Regions from separate parts of the Homo sapiens genome. Here region 1 is linked to region 2. The links are contacts of gene promoters, found by promoter capture Hi-C in human tissues and cell types (Jung and others, 2019). All regions are on one chromosome and are shown on one strand. The core of a region is centred on a gene start or on the middle of the fragment in contact, and the rest is flanking DNA. Distances in the headings are between cores, read along the strand shown.

Region 1 (2,863 bases), core at 204-2,703, 140 kb after region 2:
CCTGATACCACCTTGGCTGGGAGGGAGAAGGATGCCTTGTTACTACTCCCCATCTGGCCTCCACTGACATGATAGAGGACATTACTGCTGGGCAGTGGTGAAAGTCTTGACTCTCTACTAGACCCACTCTGACACCCAAGAAGGTGGGAGTGGAAATTTAGATTCCCCATTTTGCCTTTGCTGGCAGGGTGTAGGTAATACTACAATTTTTTCTATGGTTTAGCTGGAGTGGTTATTGTCTACAAACTTTCTTTCTTGCAAGACTGTCCCTTTCTGGTCGTTTGGCTAGTAAAAGCAGGTTTTCCTTTTTTTTTTTTCTTTTTTTTCCTTTACCTGTACTCATTAGTTTATAGGTTTCTGCCTTCTCCATACTCAGTCTGAGATCCATTAGGCATAGGCAAAAAGAAAACCCTAGGCTAGTGCCATGTCATTCCATAGGTCCTGAGGTCCCTAACCATTCTATCTTCTTCTCTCCACCTTTCAGAGTCTCCTTATATTTGTGTTTTATATAATGTCCAGGGTGTTTTGCCTGTATTTAGCAGAGGGAATAAGGAGAAGTGTTTTTACTCTATATTGTCTCAGAACCAGACATCCCCAAGGGCATTTAAAACATTTATTCTGTATCATCTGGCAAATAGCAGCCAGTGGGGACAATGTTCCCCTAAATTGATGGTGCGGCCCCTCATCTTCCACCCTTACCAGCCCAGTGTTCTGCTGTGTGAATTTTTTTTTTTTTTTGAGACAGAGTCTTGCTCTGTTAGCGCAATGGCATGATCTCAGCTCACTGAAACCTCAACCTTCCGGGTTCAAGCGATTCTCCTGCCTCAGCTACCCAAGTAGCTGGGATTACAGGAATGCACCACCATGCCTGGCTAATTTTTGTATTTTTTGTAGAGACAGGGTTTCACCATGTGTGCCAGGCTGGTCTTGAACTCCTGACCTCAAATGATCCACCCGCCTCAGCCTCCCAAAGTGCTGGGATTACAGGCATGAGCCGCTGTGCCCAGCCTGTCTTATTTCACTTAGCATAATATCATCAAAGTTATTTGATGTTGCAGCATATGTCAGAATGTCTTTCATTTTTAAAGCTAAGTAATAATCTTTTGTACATATATACCACATTTCATTTACCCATTCATCTGTTGATAGATGTTGGCTTGGTTATACCTTTTGTCTATTGTGAATAATGCTGCTACAAACATGGATATACAAACATGTCTTCAAGACCCTGCTTTCAATTCTTTGGGGTATATACTCCCAAGTGGAATTGCTGGGTCATATGGTAATTCTGTTTGTAATTTTTTGAGGAATTGCCATACTGTTTACTATAGCAGCTATGCCATTTTATATTCCCATCAAAAGTGATCAAAGGTTCCGATTTGTCCACATCTTCAATGTTTGTTATATATATATATATATATATATATATATATTTTTTTTTTTTTTTTTTTTTTTTTTTGATAGTAGCCATCCTAATGGGTATGAAGTGGTATCTGTCTCATGGTGGTTCTGATTTGCTTTCCCTAATTAGTGATATTGAGCATATTTTTATGTGCTTATTGGCCATTTGTATTTTTTTTCTTTTTGTTTGTTTCTTTTTTTTCTTAGATGGGGTCTCGCTCTGTTGCCCAAGCTAGAGTGCAGTGGTGCAATCTTGGCTTGCGGCAACCTTCGTCTCCTAGGCGATCTTCCCACCTCAGCCTCCCGAGTGGCTGGGACTACAGGTGCATGCCACTACGCCTGGCTAATTTTTGTATTTTTTTTTAGAGACAGGGTTTTGCCATGTAGTCCAGGCTGGTCTCCAACTCCTGGGCTCAAGCAATCCACCCGCCTCAGCCTCCCAAAGTGCTGAGATTACAAATGTGAGCCACCACACCTGTCCCTCATTTGTATATCTTCTTTGGAGAAACTTCTGCCCAAGTCTTTTGCCCATTTTTGAGTTAGGTTGCTTGTTTCTTTTGTTGTTGATTTCTAAGAGTTTTTTTTTTTATACATTCCAGATATTAACCCCTTATCAGATATATGACTCAATATTGTCTTTTTACAATTGCTCTGTTTGAGCCAGAATCCAACAAAGTTATACTATATCAGTATATTTGATCGTTATGACCCAAGTCTTATCTAATCTAAAGGAAATCCCTCTCCCCAATTCTCTCCCTGGTCATTGACTTGTGGCGGAATCCATCTCCATCGTCACACAGAATCGTAGTTTTGAATTTCAACTATGCTGCTGCCCTCCAAAGTTTCCTGCTTTGCCTTTGATAATTTCAGCGTAAATTTTCCTTATTGAAAAAGGAAAGTTTCTCTTTTAAATGCTCGTAGAGGACTAAAACTGAAAATGAGAAGAGGAAGCTTTATCTACATTTGGGAACACAGCTAATGGGAAGGAAGGCACTGGAGACAGGCAGGTGTGAGGAGTGTGAGGGTCAGATAGGGGTGGGGAGAGCACATTTGGGTCAACAGCCTGGCCTAAGAGAAGAGAGGCTTTTCCCAAGAGGGGACCAGCCCAGGACTGTCTTCCCAGCCATGGGCAGCACATGGCAGATCCTGGGGGCACCGCCAGGGCCACACTGTGGCTCTGCTCCCCAGGGGATGCTGGAGAGAAAGACTCGGCCTCAGGGGTTCTCTGAGTACACAGGGCCTTCCCAGGAGTCCCTGAGGGCACAGGGGCAAGGCTGGGGAGGCTACAGCATCCAGGTGGCTCAGGAGCCAGGACGTGGCAGCAGATAGACCATTGAGAAAAAAGCTACTGTCACTGACAATGTCTGAGCACTCTAAAATGTCACTAGAGTTCTCTCTGGAATTATGATGTGTGAGTTTTTTTCTTTATCTTTTCCAAATTTTCTTCAACAGTGAAAAAGCA
Region 2 (2,979 bases), core at 288-2,787:
TGAGACAGAATCTCGGTCTGTCACCCAGGCTGGAATGTAGTGGTGTGATCTCGGCTTACTGCACCCTCTGCTTCCTGGGTTCAAGTGATTCTACTGGCTCAGCCTCCCGAGTAGCTGGTACTACAGGTGCAAGCCACCACGCCTGGCTAATTTTTGTATTTTTAGTAGAGATGGGGTTTCACCATGTTGGCCAGGCTGGTCTCGAACTCCTGACCTCAAGTGATCTTCCCGCCTCGGCCTCCCAAAGTGCTGGGATTACAGGCGTGAGCCACTGCACCCGGCTCCTGCTACTTCTGATGTGTGCATGCAGGAGGCCCAGCAGAGCCCAGCACCATTTCCCCATTTCACTTGTCTTTGCCTCCTGCCTGGCCCTGAGTTCGGGATCCCTTATCTCAGCAGAATTTGGAGGTGCATAAGAGGCAGGGAACACAGAGGGAGAGCATGCTTAGATGTGTGTGTGCTGGGAGGTGGGGGAGGCTGCATAAGCGCCCCCCGGAGAGATCTATGCCTAATCCTCAGAACTCGTAAATATGTTTCCTTACATGGCAAGGGGGGTTAAAGTTACAGATGAAGTTAAGGTTACTACTTAGCTGACTTTAAAATAGATTATCCTGGATTGTCAGGTAGGTCCCATTAATCCCAGGATCCTTAAATGCATAAGACCCAAAGAAATGCAGCGTGATAAAGATTTGGGCAGCCGTCGGTGGCTTTGAAGATGCAAGGGGTCCCAGAGCCAAGGAATGCAGGAGGCTCTAGAAGCTGGAAAAGGCAAGGAAGGAAATGAGCTCTGCCCTAGAGCCTCCAGAAAGGAAGGCAATCCTTCTGAGACCTTGATCTTAGCCTGCTGAGGCCCATTTGTTCTTCTGACCTCCAAAACCATAAGGTAATAAGTCTCTGCTGTTTCAAGCCACTAAGTGTGGGCATTTGTTATAGCAGCAATAGGAAACCAATACAGGATGTATGTGTGTAAGGCTGGAGAGGGTGGAGGTGGATAAAGGAGACTTTCCAGGGAGGGAGAGCCTCCGCTGTCCTCTCAGAGATGTGGCTTCTGGACCAGAGCCATCTGTACCAGCCTCCCTCTGCAGGGACCGCTTCAGCATCCCCCAGCACCACCTGATACCCCAATACCCTGGAGCACTCACTCCCTCTACTCATCCCAAAGGTCCTCTGCCAGGTGGACAGGCCCCAGGCAATTGGCTCTCAATGTGCCAAAGAGGTAACTGAGGCCTGGGAGAAGCATAGCCAGGAGGAGCACTCCACCTGCCGCAGGAGATGGCCAGACGCCACACCTGAGAACTCACGCTTTCTGGGAGGGCAGCCCGCTCCTTCCACAGATTCCCCACAGCCAAACAGGCCCAGGCAGGCTCCTGTCCACACCTGTGCTGAGAACGCGGCCGCAAAATTGCCAGGGGTCATCATAATTTCTACTCTCCACACCCTCCCGGCCCTGCCTCCCTGTAGGCAGGACCGCAAGCCAAAGCCAGGGCCCACCTGACCACAATCCAGGCCCAGCCAGACCCTTGGAAGCAGAACCTTTGAGCTCCACTGGTGTCCAGGAAGTAGTGTCACAATGGGGTGGGGAGGTCCTTGGGGTGAGCTGGGAATGGTGAGGGTCAGCATTCTACTCCAGGGACACAACTGGCTGTAGCCTCCAGGGGCAAGGCAGGTCAGGAAAACTGCCACACGAACCCCCCTGCCCCTGTCTTTGTGCAGGCTGTTTCCTCCACACGAGGGCTCCACCTCCACTCTCGGAAATTCTCCTGTCCTTCCAGATATCACTCATTTATCAACTATCCTTCAAGCCTTCCTGAGCCCACAGCTGGAAATGGCTTGGCCCTACCCCACTCACTTCTGCTCTGTCTCTCCGTGACACTCCCCTGCCAACCAGCCTTGGTCAGAGCTGCCGGGGTCTGACCCATCTCCCCCATAAGCTAGAAGCCTCCTCTGCCAGATTGCAGGAACAGGGCTTCAAGCTTCATGCTTGGGGGAAGGGAGGCCAAAGTGGCAGGACAGGAAAACCAGCACAGGGCCTAGTACAAGGCAGACCATCCTTGTACCAGTACAGCATGTACTTAGGACCTCAACAAAATTAGAGCATTGCTATGGCTTAATATTTGTCCTCTCCAAAACTCATGTTGAAACTTCATCTCCAGTGTGGTAGCGTGATGGGGCCTTTAAGATGTAATTGGGTCATGAGTGTAATCTGTTAATCCATGAATCACCAATCATGGATTAGTAGATTAATGGGTTAATGAGTTATGAGAATGGGACTGGTGACTTTATAACAAGAGGAAGAAAGACAAGCTAGCTTGCTCGGTTCCCTCACCTGTGCCCCCTTGGGAGACTGCAGAGTTCCCAACAGCAAGAAGGCCCTTACCAGATGTATTCCCTAAACCTTGGACTTCCCAGCCTCCAGAACTGTAAGAAATAAATTTCTTTTCTTTATAAATAACTCAGTTTCAAGCAGTCTGTTATAAGCAACAGAAAATGGACTAACACAGACACTTAAGACACAAAAAAAAATTAAAAGAATTTCATATATTTGAAAAAAAATGAAGTATTGATCACAGGGAAACCTACTTACAGCTCTTTTGCAGTTTCCTATGGCTCAATCTTCACTTGTTTGGGGGCAGGGCACTGCAATCTTATTGGTATCTGGGGCATCAGATCCTTCCTCTTTCACCAGACCTCCCTCGGGGTGTCTGCAGGTCACCTCAGTGGTTGGTCCTAGGCCCCTCATCCCCCCTAGAGTTCCCCACTCTTGAGCAGCAGCACTCTGGGGGTCAAAGGGACCAAGCAGACAGCACAGTGAGCACCCAGAAGCCATCAGTGAGACTGAAGAGCAGGGTGGGAGCACCCCTTTGTTTTGGTTTGTTTTGGTTACATAAGATCCCAGAACTCGGCTGGGCATGGTGGCTCACGCCTGTAATCCCAGCACTTTGGGAGGCTGAGGCAGACGGATCACCTGAGGTCAGGAGT

What was found. The method cuts DNA at HindIII sites, captures the fragments that hold promoters and counts their contacts. A contact is called where the count stands out against the background at its distance.
Region 1: a fragment that was not itself captured here is called in contact with the fragment with the promoter of SLC22A14 in region 2 in 2 of the 25 tissues and cell types used here (liver and spleen).

Annotation. Positions count from the first base shown.
Region 1 is chr3:38,143,429-38,146,291 of GRCh38, reverse strand. No RefSeq gene overlaps it. Among named protein-coding and RNA genes, the nearest start is that of MYD88, 6.2 kb to the right of the region's middle. RefSeq lists an enhancer at 2,362-2,421. The HindIII fragment of the contact is 3,478 bases long and covers 1-2,863 here.
Region 2 is chr3:38,280,852-38,283,830 of GRCh38, reverse strand. SLC22A14 (solute carrier family 22 member 14) reads right to left here and starts at 1,537. Exons shown (of 11, transcript NM_001320033.2): 1 at 1,492-1,537. The HindIII fragment of the contact is 14,250 bases long and covers 1-2,746 here.